3 separate regions of the Homo sapiens genome follow, and all the other regions are linked to region 2. The links are contacts of gene promoters, found by promoter capture Hi-C in human tissues and cell types (Jung and others, 2019). All regions are on one chromosome and are shown on one strand. Each heading gives the region's core, a stretch centred on a gene start or on the middle of the fragment in contact. The rest is flanking DNA. Distances are from core to core; before and after follow the strand shown.

Region 1 (4,284 bases), core at 17-2,516, 190 kb before region 2:
TGGGCAAAAAAGGCCTTAGAGGTTAGATATCATATCAAACAAACAATAACACTAAGGAGTGACAGCTGACACCAAGGAAAAGAATGTAAACTACACAAAGTAGGCACAAGAACTCAAAATCCCTACTATTCCACAGTGCAGAAGTAAAAGCTTTCCAGATTTCAAAAGGTCATGAGAGAATTCAGGCACAACTAACATGTATTCATAATGATGCTCCTGAGATCACAGTGTGTCCTACTGAGAAAGGCAAGAATGTTCATGTTTTAGAAAGCTCTCCATACAAAATGATGAAAAATACATGTTTTGCACATGGAAAAGAGGACGCATAATCAAGGACACAGCACTGCCTGACCCCGATTTTGTCACCAAGTTGTTGGGGTGCTAAAGTTATTTCCCTCTCTGGGCTCTCTGGTTTACCCATGTGTACAAAGAAGAAGCTGGAATAGATCGTCTTGCCACTTAAAAGCTTCAGTTACCTGGAAAGTCTGTTTCTGAAGGGCATCACATTTTCCAAAGACACCAGAGAAACAAGAAGTTAGTACAATTCAATACAATCTGTGCCACCTTTTTTAAAAAAGGAATCTCATTATGGGTTTCTTTCAGCTACAACCCTCAATCAATCGCAATGTCTTTTTCGTGTCCTCCTTTATTGCCGAGTTTCACTATTCTGTTAGTCCTTCGGCATCTCTACCTTCCCTTGCCCAATAGAGGTACTCCTGGCCAGAGCCCCCATTACGTGTTTCAGCTTCTCTGTGAATAACTATGCAAGCTTGAGATGCTCAAAAGTTTCCCCCATCATTAATCCTATTATGGAAGCATTGATGTTGAGAGCGTCTGCTAAAAGATAACATGACAAACTGTAGCTACAATTTGTTTCTTTTTATACAAAGCTGCAAAGAAAATCGCATTCCAACATTATATACCAGCAGAGGACTGGTGTGCTGCTAATGTTTAACTCTATCAAGGATCCCAAAAGAAAATTTAAACTGAGATGCTCTTAACTGGAAATAGGGGATTCAAATAAAGAAATGTCATCAACCCTCAATTTTATGTATTAACAGAATGAGCACATGAATAATGCCAAACATGAAGCTAGAATCTGCACTAAAAATAATGCCAGCAAAACTGTTCAAGAATCAATCATGCCTGCTTTTGGAATAAAGTCAGATATATTCAGAGAGAAGCATCATGATACTCTGCTTGGTTTCAACTCCCTCTTTTTTTTTGTTTGTTTTTTTGGACGGAGTCTTGCTCTGTTGCCAGGCTGGAGTGCAGTGGCGCGATCTCGGCTCACTGCACCCTCCACCTCCCAGGTTCAAGCAATTCTCCTGTCTCAGCCTCCTGAGTAGCTGGCACTACAGGTGCATGCTACCATGCCCAACTAATTTTTGTATTTTCAGTAGAGACAGGGTTTCACCATGTTGGCCAGGATGGTCTCGATCTCTTGACCTCATAATTCGCCCACCTCGGCGTCCCAAAGTGCTGGGATTACAGGTGTGAGCCACCGCGCCTGGCCAGTTTCAACTCCTTCTTAGTTCAGTGACTCTAGATATTGCTGGGTAGCTGTTGAAAGGAAGTACAAAGAGCCAGTGCACATAATCTGCTTACAAGCAGCTGATAATCCAAAGTGAGTTAAAAGATAGAAAGGCACTGCAGTAGTCTCACTAGATCCTTCACTGAACTCCAGGATGAAGAAAAGCTAATTTCCATTTACCAACCCACAATGGAGCTGGAATTCTAAAGTTTAGGCTAAAACATTTTCAGATCAGTCACTGCTGGAATTCTATGGAAAAGAAACTAGTTCTGAACTACAAGCATACCTCATTTTTTTCCCCCTTTGCAGATACTGTGCTTTTTACAAATTGAAGATTTATAGAAACCCCGCATCAAGAAAGTCTATCAGCTGGGCGCGGTGGCTCACACCTGTAATCCCAACACTTTGGGAGGCTGAGGTGGGCAGATCACTTGAGCCCAAGAGTTTCAGACCAGACTGGGCAACATGCCAAAACCCCATCTCTACAAAAAATACAAAAATTAGCTGGGCATGGTGGCACACACCTGTAGTCCCAGCTAATCTGGGATTGCTCGAGCCCATGAGGTCAAGGCTGCAGGGAACCATGATCCTGCTGCTGTACTCCAGCCTGGGCAATAGAGCCAGACTCTACCTCCAAAAAAAAAAAAAAGAAAGTCTATCGCTGCCATTTTTCCAAAATCATGTGTTCACTTCATGTCTGTGTCACATTTTGACAATTACTGCAATGTTTCAAACTTTTTCATTATTATCATATCTGCTATGGTAATCCGTGATGAGTGATCTTTAATATTACTACTTTGTTTTCAGGCACTACAAACACGCCCACGTGAGACAGCGAACTTAATGAATAAATGTGTGTGTTCTGAGTGCCTCAACCAGCCTTTCCTCTTTCTCTCTCTCTCTCTCTCTCCTCAGGTCTCCCTATTCTCTGAGACACAACAATACTGCAATTAAGTAATTAATAACCCTACAATGGCCCTAAGTGTTCAAGTGAAAGAAAGAGTCTCACATCTCTCACTTTAAATCAAAAGCTATACATGATTAAGCTTTAGTGAGGAAAGGATGTTGAAAGCGGCAATGGGCCGAAAGCGAGGCCTGTTATACCAGACAGAAAAGCGTGAATGCACAGGAAAAGCTCTTGAAGGATATTAAAAGTGCTACTCCAGTAAACATATGAATAGTAAAAGAGCTAAAGAGCCTTACTGCTTATATGGAGAAAGTCTTAGTGCTCTGGACAGAAGATCAAACCAGTCACAACATTCTCTTGAGCCAAGCCTAATCCAGAGCAAGGCCCTAACTCTCTTCAGTTCTATGAAGGCTAAGAGAGGTGAGGAAGCTGCACACAAAGTTTGAAGCTAGCAGAGGCTTATTCATAAGGCTTAAGGAAAGAAGCCACTTCCATAACATGAAAGCGCAAGGTGAACCCAGAAGTGCTGATGTAGAAGCTGCAGCAAGTTAGTCAGAAGAATTAGCTAAGATCATTGATGAAGGTGGCTACACTAAACAACAGATTTTCAATGTTGACAAAACAGCCTTCTGTTGGAAGAAGAGGCCATCTAGGATTTTCACAGCTAGAGAGAAGTCAATGCCTGGCCTCAAAGCTTCAAAGGACAGGCTGATGCTCTTCTTAGGGACTAATGACTTTTAAATTGAAGCCAATGCTCATTTAGCATTTTGAAATCCTAGGGCCCTTGGGAATTATGCTAAATCTACCCTGCCTGTGTTCTAGAAATGGAATAACAAAGCCTGGATGACAGCATATCTGTTTACAGCATTGTTTACTGAATATTTTAAGCCCACTGTTAAGACCTACTGCTCAGAAAAAAAAAAATTTCTTCCAAAATATTACTGTTCATTGCCAATGCATCTGGTCACCCAAGAGGTCTGATGGAGATGTACAAGGAGATGAATGTTAATTATATGCCTGCACACACAGCATCCATTCTGCAGCCCATGGATCAAAGAGTAATTTCAACTTTCAAGTATTATTCTTTAATATTTAAGAAATGCATTCATAAGTCTATAGCTGCCATGGATAGTGATTCTTCTGATGGATCTGGGCAAAATAAATTGAAAACTTTCTGGAAAAGATTTATCATTCTAGATGCCATCAAGAACATTCATAATTCATGGGAGGAGGACAATATATTAACATTAACAGGAGTTTAGAAGAAGTTGATTCCAATCCTCGTGGATGTCTTTGAGGGGTTCAAGATTTCAGTGGAAGAACTAACTGCAGATGTGGTGGAAACAGTAAGATAACTAGAATTCGAAGCAGAGCCTGAAGATGTGACTGAATTGCTGCAATCTCATGATCAGACTTGAATGGAATGTTTCCTAAGGATAAGCAAAGAAAGTGGCTTCTAGAGATAAACTCTACTCCTAGTGAAGATGCTGTGGACATTGTTGAAATGACAACAAAGGATTTAGAATATTACATGAACTTAGATGATAAATTGGCAGCACAGTTTAAGAGAACTGACTCTAATTCTGAAAAAAGTTCTACTGTGGGTAAAACGCTATGAAACAGCACAGCTTGCTACAGAGAAATCTTTCATGAAAGGAAGAGCCAACAGATGGAGCAGACTTCATCGTTGTCTTAAGAAATTGCCACAGCCACCCCAACCTTCAGCAAACACCACCCTAATCAGTCAGCAGCCAGCAAAAGGAGGCAAGACCCTCCATCCACCAGCAAAAAGATAACTTGCTGAAGGCTCAGATGATGGTTAGCAGCTTTTAACAACAAAGCA
Region 2 (4,591 bases), core at 396-2,895:
ACTGACCTTGCCAAGTGCTCCTCTGGCGAGGGAACACAGGGGACCCCACATTCCTGCGCGGCACTGGCTCCCGTGCTGGCCGAGATGCACAGGAGCACCTGATGATACGGCCGCCCAGGGCTGGGAGCTGGGGCCTCAGTTGGGGGCTCGCTGCCTGCGCTCCCCCAACACCTGCCGCCCGGTCCGCGACACCGTGTATGCCAGCTTCTGCAGGGAGTACCTGAACACCTGCGACGAGAAACCCAGGACCCACCCTTAGTGGAGAGCACCCACAGCATGTCTGTGGTGCTGCCGTGCCCACCCCCGCCCCACCCCCTGCCCCGCCCGCCCATCCAGCGTAGGCTGGAGAGGCGGGCGCGGGCGCAGCTTGTCCACGAGTCAGGGCAGCTGGAGCTTTTCCAACTGTGCTGAGAGCTGCATGGCGGCAAGCTGATTGGACCCACAACTTAGGTATACCTCACTTCTCGCAATGGGCTGTGTCCCTGGAGGATTTCGAAAAGCGAATCCTACCCAGTAAATGCAGCATTCCAGGAACACCTTGAAGGAAATATGCGATTCCTTTGGCAAAGGATTCCTTTAGCAGGGAATTCTTCCTGCAAAGGGAGCTTTTAGGGTAAATGATTTTATGGGCAAAGCGCTTTCTTCTGATTTATCTCTTTTTACACCAAGCGCTTTTGCCTCTTTTTTATTTTTTTTATTATTATTTTTTTTTTTGTAAAGCAATTGTCCTTTTTTGGAAGTGCTTTTTTTCCCCTTCTATTTTTCTCTCGAGGGGCTTTTTCCTCTAATTTTTTTCTTTAAAGCGTTTTTGCCCGATCCATTTTTTTCCGTTAGCTCCCTTGTCTAATTTTTTTCTGCAGTGCGTTTTTAATCTAATGCATTTTTTTCTGCCAAGTGCTTTTCTCCGATTTATTTTTCCTGCAATGCGCGTTTTTCTGTTTTCCTGTGAACTACTTTTTCTCTAATTCGTTGTAGGGTTTTTTTTTTTTGCGAAGTAATTTTTATTTTTTCTGAGAAGTGCCTTTTTCTAACTTATTTTTTGTTCCACCCCCGCAAGCGCTATATGTTTTTTTAAATAAAATTTCTCCGCAATGCGCAATTTTTTAAGGTGGAAAATTTTCACTCTGCGAGCTGTAAAGTCTTTCAACACAGTAGTGCCCCGCCTCCCTCCTGGGGTCGAGTCCGGGTGTAGCGGGTTTTTCTTACCGCGTAGGTCGCTAAATGCCTGGGTGATCGTCCGCAGCGGTCGCCCGCCGCGCCCCGAGTCTTTGTTCCCTGGCAGGCGCGGGCGCACTAGGGAGGGTCAGCGCGAGGAGGACGGCGCAGGGAATGGGCAGGGGGCGCGCGGTGCCGGCAGCGGCACTTGGGCAGGCAAGGATCGCGGCAATCGGAATAGGACGGGTCCGGGAAGCGGCAATCGCGACGCAGTCTTGCGGGTTCTAGGGGCGCGAGTTGGGAACCCTCTCCCACCCGAAACCCCGTCAGACTTACCTGCAGCAGCACGCGGAAGATGTACCAGCCGATGATGAGCAGTTCAGCCGAGGCCGCCGCCACTGCCGCCATGGTTCCAAGAATGGTAGGTGGGTGGTCGAGAAAGAGGGTTTGCCGAGATCCGCTGGTCTCGGAGTCCGCTGTTGGGCGCACTGCCGCAGCCGCGGTGGCCGCGCCTTAAGTACCCGCCCGCCACCTAAGTGCGCATGCGCGCCTTGGGGGGTGTTTATGAGGAGGGGTGGCTGGGGGCGCTCCTCATTCGCCAGGAGAGGAAAAAAATAATCCATCTGCTCTTTCCATACCGACCCCCGCCTCCTGAGTTCCATCTTAGCCCCCTTCCAGAAGATTCCGCCGTGCTTGCTTTTGGATTTTGCTTTAAAATGGAGGGGTACCACGACTCTGGGTAGAGTACAGGGCGAGAATGGGGGTGCAGGTCTCTTAGTGTGGCGCCCTTCTCCCCAGTCCCTGGCCTGCAAATTTGAGCTCAGTCTCCGGTGCCACTCCAAAGCCTACCTTGGGGATGGATGGAAAACCGAAATTAGGGAGGGGTCATCTGCCCCATAGAGCAAAAAACGTGGTGCCCCTTTCAGAAGCTTTGGCATAATAGGCCCGTGCTCGGCGCTCTTTTCCTGATACTGAATGAGTTTTAAGCCCAGGTCCTCTGCTTCATGAGGGTGCCTGAGCGCGTAACCCGTCTGATTCTTTACATCTCTCTTACGGTAGCGAGGAGATGAGAATCTGCGGTGGAGGTCGCTACTGTAGGGAGCTGAGCCAGAGCACTGCGCTTTGGGCGCAAAAGCAGTAGTCACCCGGTATCTGTAGGAGGGATACAGGAAGGATTGGCGCCCTTCGTATGCACGGAAGGAATGAGCTCTACGGAGAAGTGGTTGGAATATGCTTGGGGATAGTTTTCTGCTGGACAGGTCGTTTCGACCTCAGTCTTCCGCTCCCCTCCCCCAAGCCCTGGTAGGTCGGCCTTAGCCAGTGGGGTTCTTTGTACCCGTTGCGCTGTGCGGCTGGATCACCGAACGGGGTTACGCTACCGCTACCGGAGGGTTGTGGCTACCGCAGCCCCGTTTCCAAGTGAGGCGGGTCCCTTTTAGACCGCCAGTCTTGTGGGTCCCTCGCACAGCGCGGATTTTCGGGCGGGAAGACCGGAATGCGGTTTGTGAGTGTGGTCCCCGCGCACCGGTAGCCAGCCGAAAGCACCTCTTTCCAGCAAGCTGCCTGGCCCAGGGACCAACTGGCATTTGCCCCTATGTGGATAGAAAATTAATTTTCATTAAAAGCTCCCAGAGGTCAGGTTCTATACAGTGCCAGCAGCAGATGGAGGTGTAATGATCCAAACGAGTTCAGTTTGGACAAAGTAGCATAGTGACTTTTTTTCTACATTGACTTTCGGAGAAGTTGGCAGATTCTGGCAAAGTGACGCTGGGCTGTTTGAAAAAGGCAAGCTTAGCCTAGGCTGCCATCTTAAAATATTTCGAGGCTGTAGCTGCCTCAGGATCCTTTGCCTGTGGTCTGGTGGCCGGCAGTGCCCCGCTAACAGCTTTAACTCTGCACTTAGTGCCTGAGCACCTATGGCTGTGAGAGATGCTAGATACAGAACCCTGTCCTTACCACGTGGGGGCACAGCAGGGAGCCCTTGGTCGTCCTTTGGCAACCACTGGGCGGTATTGTGAGGTCTGGGCCCCTTGAGGACGGGCTGCAGCCCCAGGAGGCGATACATGATCTCTGCTGGGCAGGGCCCAGGCAAAGCCAGCCCACTGTGTGAAACCGTGCCAAAGAGCCCTCTCCCCGATCCCCCAGGAGAAGCCCCGGGGAGACATCCCAGGAAGCTTCCCGAATTAGTGACTTGGAGAGGAGTAGAACTTTCACGGGTGGGCAGGGAGGAAAGGGCATTTCACATTTGCTGTTGTTAACCATGATCCATTTTCCCAAATAAGTATACATTCTGTTCCTGTTTTTTTTTTTTTTTTCTTTTTTTTTTTTTTTTTTTGTCTGTCTGTCTGTTCTTTGTCTGTTTGTCTGTTGTGTTGACTTTTCTCTTCAGGATCCCTGCTGCCTTGGTGATCCCGGGCTGACAGCCAGAGAGCACAGCGGCTCAGCTCCTGGAGAGTGAGGGTTGAAGAAAGCGGAGGGCAGCCGCCTGCGCCCGCTGGCTCCCATTAGGTCGGTTCCTGCAGCGGTGCCCGGCAGCCTTGGTGAAGGCCCTGCCCGGCAGAGATCATGTATTGCCTCCAGTGGCTGCTGCCCGTCCTCCTCATCCCCAAGCCCCTCAACCCCGCCCTGTGGTTCAGCCACTCCATGTTCATGGGCTTCTACCTGCTCAGCTTCCTCCTGGAACGGAAGCCTTGCACAATTTGTGCCTTGGTTTTCCTGGCAGCCCTGTTCCTTATCTGCTATAGCTGCTGGGGAAACTGTTTCCTGTACCACTGCTCCGATTCCCCGCTTCCAGAATCGGCGCATGATCCCGGCGTTGTGGGCACCTAACGGCCTGCCCTGTTAGCTTTCCAAGGAAGCAGAAGACGGGAGGGGAGGCATTGACATAGGTCATAAAGCATTGGAGTTTCAAATCCCGCAGCCTCGCGGGTGTCACATTCCTGACGGCGCCTTTTTGGCCTGTGATGTTTTATCCTTACAATGTGAATAATGGCACTGACCGGTGCTTTTATTGTAAAGTCCTATAGTCGTGGGTGGTCTTGTGGTTGTGTGTGTTCTGTCCCCATCTAGGTCCTGGCTGGCCGCATGACCACCCCTCTCGCCTCATTACTGTGAGGAGTCTGGGTCCATCCTGGTCAGCTGCCCCAATGTGACCTGGGGCAGATAAAATGCCAGTCTCATTGTCACCTCTGTGACCCCTCCTTGTCAGGGTCTCCTTCCTTCCCAGAATGTTACTGACTCCTCAGTCCCTCTTCTGGTTTCCCTTTATTTCTCTTCTACCCTTTTCCTTTTTTGGGGAGTACCTGTCCAAGACAGGGCTCATTTTTGCACTTATCTCGAATTTGAAGAGATTGCTGACGCCCGAGAGCCTCGCTTTTTCATCCTTCTTTCCTTGTTCAGCAGGCTAGACAGAAACATGTCTTGACTGTTAGTTGTC
Region 3 (4,451 bases), core at 1,026-3,525, 200 kb after region 2:
CACAGAGAAGTGAAAGATATTCCAATGTGTTCATGGATTGGAAGAATTAATATTTCTAAAATGTCCATATTACCCAAAGCAACCTACAGATGAAATGTAATCCCTATCAAAATTCCAATGGTATTTTTCACAGAAATAAAAAAGAAAATCCCAAAATTCATATGACCCACAAGAGACCTCACATAACCAGAGCAATCTTGAGAAAGAACAAAGCTGGAGGCATCACACTTCCTGATTTCAAATTATATTACAAAGCTCTAGTAATCAAAACAATATGGTACTGACATAAAAACAATAGTTCAATTGAAAAGAACAAAGAGCCTGGAAATAGACCCAAGCATATATGGTCAACTAATCTTTGACAAGGGCACTAAGAATACACAAAAGGGGAAAGATAACCTCTTCAATAAATGGTGTTGGGCTGGGCAAAGTGGCTCAAGCCTGTAATCTTAGACCTTTGGGAAGGTGAGGCAGGAGGATCACTTAAGCCCAGGAGTTCAAGACCAGCCTAGGCAACATACTGGGACTCTGTCTCTACAAAAAATAAAAAAATAGCTGGGTGTGGTGGTGTGCACCTGCAGTCCCAGCTACTTGGGAGGCTGAGGCAGGAAGATCACTTGAGTCTTTGGCTACAATGAGCCATAATTGTGCCATTGCACTCCAGCCTGGGCAATAGAGAGATTCTGTCTCAAAAAAAAATAAAAAATAAATGGTGCTTGGAAAACTAGATAGCCACTTACAAAATAATGAAATTGAACCCTTATACTATATACAAAAATCATCTCAAAATAGATTAAACACTTAAATATAAAATCTGAAATTTTAAAACTCCTAGAAGAAAACAGGGAAAAAGCTTTTTAAAATCATATATATGTAATTTAATTTTTTTTTTTTTTTTTTTTTTTTTTTTGCAGAGATGGTGTCTCACTATGTTCTCACTATGTTGCCCAGGCTCGTCTCAAACTCTGGGCCTCAAATGTCTTCCCAGCTAGGCCTCTCAAAATGCTGGGATTATAAGTGTGAGCCACCACACCCAGCCGGGAAAAAGCATTTTGACATTGGCCTTGGCAACAATTTTTTGGATATGGCAACTAAAGCACAGGCAACAAACACAAAAATAAAAAAAATAGGACTGCATCAAACTAAAAAGTTTCTGCACAGCAAAGGAAACAATCAACAAAATGAAAAGGCCATCTACAGAATGGAAGAAAATGTTTGCAAATCATATATATGATAGGGTATTAATATCCAAAATATATAAGAAACTCATACAACTCCATAGCAAAAAAACAACCCAACGAACCCAATTTTTTAAATGGTCAAAGGACCTAAATAGACAGTTTTCCAAAGAAAACATACTAATGGTCAGCAGGTCTATGGAAGGGTTATCAACATCACTAAATATGCAAATCAAAACCGGGAGATATCACCTCACACCTATTAGAGGGGCTATTATTTTAAAAACAAAAGGTAACTGTTGGCAAAGATGTTTAGAAATTGGAACCTGGTACTCTACTGGTGGGAATGTAAATTGGTACAGCCATTATAGAAAATGGTGTGGAGGCTCCTCAAAAAATAATAATAAAAAAAGAACTACCAAATGATCCAACAATCCCACTTCTGGGTATTTATCCAAAGGAAATTAAATCAGTATCTCAAAGAAATGCTACATTCCTATGTTTATTGCAGCATTATTCATAATAGATAAGATACAGAAACAACCTATATGTTCATCAACTGATGAATGGATAAAGGAAATGTGGTGTACATACAATGGAATATTATTAAGCCTTAACAAAAAAAAAAAAAGGAGGCCGGGCGTGGTGGCTCATGCCTGTAATCCCAGCACTTTGGGAGGCCGAGGTGGGCGGATCACGAGGTCAGGAGATCGAGACCATCTTGGCTAACACAGTGAAACCCCATCTCTACTAAAAATACAAAAAATTAGCCAGGCGTGGTGGTGGGAGCCTGTAGTCGCAGCTAATCGGGAGGCTGAGGTAAAAGAATGGCATGAACCTGGGAAGCGGAGCTTGCAGTGAGCCGAGATCGGGCCACTGCACTCCAGCCTGGGCGACAGAGCAAGACTCTGCCTCAAAAAAAACAAAAAAAAAACCACAAAACGGAAATCCAGGCTAGGCACAGTGGCTCACGCCTATAACCCCAGAGGCCGGGGCGGGCAGGTCACGATGTCAGGAGTTTGAGACCAGTCTGGCCAACATGGTGAAACCCTGTCTCTACTAAAAATACAAAAATTAGCCGGGCATGATGACGAGTGCCTGTAGTCCCAGATACTCAGGAGGCTGAGGCAGGAGAATCACTTGAACCCAGGAGGTGGAGGTTGCAGTGAGCCGAGATCGTACCACTGCACTCCAGCCTGGGTGACAGAGCGAGACTCCATCTCAAAAAAAAAAAAACAGAAAAGAAAAAAAAAAAAAAGAAATTCTGCCATTTGCAACAACATGAATGGACCTGTGAAATAAGCCAGACACAGAGCGAGAAATATTGCATGATCTCATTTATATGTAGAATCTAAAATAGTCAAACCTGCAAAATCAGAGAGTAGAATGGAGGTTGCTAAGGACTGGGAGTAGTGGGTGACGGGGAGCTGTTGGTTAAGGGGCACAAAGTTTCAGTTATGCAAGATGAAAGCGTGCTGGAGATCTAATGTATAGCACGGTGACTATAGACAATGATACTGTACTATAGTCATCCCTGGGTATCTGCCTGGGATTTGTTTCAGGACCCCCACAGACATCAAAATCCACACATATTCAAGTCTCGAGGTGGGCCCTGTGAAACCCACCTCTAGGAGAAGTTAGTCCTCCATATATGTGGATTTCGCATCCCACAAACACTATTTTTGATATGCCCTTGGTTGTAGATGTGGATGTGGATATGAAGGAATTGTATTTACTGAAAAAAAGCTGCGTATAAGTGGACCACACAGTTCAAACCCATGTTGCTCAAGGGTCAACCGTATATACTTGAAATTTTCTAAGATCCTAAGTGTTCTCACCCCCACGCCCCACCGCCCGACACACACACATATAACTATGTGAGGTGATGGATATTTTAATTAGCTTGATTGTGGTGATTATTTCACAACATATACGTATATCAAATCAGCAAGTTGTATATTTTAAATAGATACTTTGTTTTTCTTAAGATGCTCTTTAAGATAGGGAAGACCACGAAAAGAGCAGGCTTGGGGCTGCTGGTGAGATCAGGAATGTGCTTTGAGATGCCTGTTGTGTATTCAAATGGAGATAATGAGTAGGAAGTCAGATATGTGAGTCTGGAGCTCAGGAGTAGGGCTGGAGAGATCCGTCTGGGAGACATCAGCATGTGAGTGGTGTGATGGTTAATTTTATATGTCAACTTGACTAGGCCACAGGACGAGCAGGTATCTGATTAAATAGTATTTCTGGGTGTGTCTGTGTTCCGGAAGAGATTAGCATTTGAATCTGTGGACTGAGTAAAGCGGGTGGGCCTCATCCATTTAAGGGCCTGAACAGAACAAAAAGAGGAAGGTTGGACTCGCCCTCCCGCTGTCTGACTGCATGAGCTGGGACATTTGTCTTCTCTCAGCACTCCAGGTTCTCAGGCCTTCAGACTCAGACAGAATCTACACCATCGGCCCCTTACTGGCTTTCTTGGGTTTCCAGCTTGCAGGCAGCAGATCGTGGGACTTCTCGGCCTCCATAATCACTGGAGACAATATCTTGTAAGAAGTCTCGCTGGGTACGGTGGTTCATGCCTGTAATCCCAGCACTTTGGGAGGCCAAGGCAGGTGGATCACTTGTGGCCAGGAGTTCGAGACCAGCCTGGCCAACATGGCGAAACCCCATCTCTACTAAAAATACAAAAACTAGCTGTGCGTGGTGGCACATGCCTGTAATCCCAGCTACTTGGGAGGCTGAGGCAGGAGAATCGCTTGAACCCGGGAGGCGGAGGCTGCAGGGAGCTGAGATCGCGCCACTGCACTCCAACCTGGGTGACAGAGCAAGACTCCATCTCAAAAAATACAAACTTTTAAAGTCTCCTTCTATGTTTCTCTGGAAAATCCTAATACGGGTGGTATTTAAAGCCACGAGCCTAGATGAGATCTTCAAAGGAGTACGTGCAGAGAGGAAGTCTAGGGACTGGAGCTTCTGTGTAACAGAGGATAGAGGACTAAGGACTGAAGCCTGGGCCCCTCTCAAGAGGAGGAACCAGTAATGCAGGAGGGAAATCGGGAGAGGATGGGTCCCGAAAACCAAGAGAACCAAATGCTGCAAACTCTGCCCACAGTACATGTGGAAGAAGGGTTTGGTGGAGCAGAGGATGACAGCCCTTGCTTTCTGAGGGCCATTCTCTGGCCCAGCCTTTAAGGGAAAGAATTTAAGGAAGTTGGATCTATTGAGGTAGCACTGCTCCCGGGAGCCAGAAGCTGTCTCTCCTCCACAAGCTGA

What was found. Contacts are between HindIII fragments. The study calls those that stand out against the background at their distance.
Region 1: a contact is called between a fragment that was not itself captured here and the fragment with the promoter of NNAT in region 2, in 1 of the 25 tissues and cell types used here (dorsolateral prefrontal cortex).
Region 3: a fragment that was not itself captured here is called in contact with the fragment with the promoter of NNAT in region 2 in 1 of the 25 tissues and cell types used here (spleen).

Annotation. Positions count from the first base shown.
Region 1 is chr20:37,706,089-37,710,372 of GRCh38, reverse strand. The region is part of intron 1 of CTNNBL1 (catenin beta like 1); the gene reads right to left. Among named protein-coding and RNA genes, the nearest start is that of CTNNBL1, 14 kb to the right of the region's middle. The HindIII fragment of the contact is 3,185 bases long and covers 1-2,858 here.
Region 2 is chr20:37,518,304-37,522,894 of GRCh38, reverse strand. It overlaps NNAT (neuronatin), which reads right to left and starts at 1,645. Exons shown (of 3, transcript NM_005386.4): 1 at 1,492-1,645; 2 at 457-537; 3 at 1-228. The coding sequence starts at 1,563. The coding sequence ends at 136. It overlaps BLCAP (BLCAP apoptosis inducing factor), which reads left to right. Exons shown (of 2, transcript NM_006698.4): 2 at 3,545-4,591. The coding sequence starts at 3,721. The coding sequence ends at 3,984. RefSeq lists enhancers at 2,573-3,436, 3,437-4,300. The HindIII fragment of the contact is 18,819 bases long and covers 1-2,515 here.
Region 3 is chr20:37,318,376-37,322,826 of GRCh38, reverse strand. No RefSeq gene overlaps it. Among named protein-coding and RNA genes, the nearest start is that of SRC, 26 kb to the left of the region's middle. RefSeq lists an enhancer at 2,956-3,653. The HindIII fragment of the contact is 5,123 bases long and covers 1-4,451 here.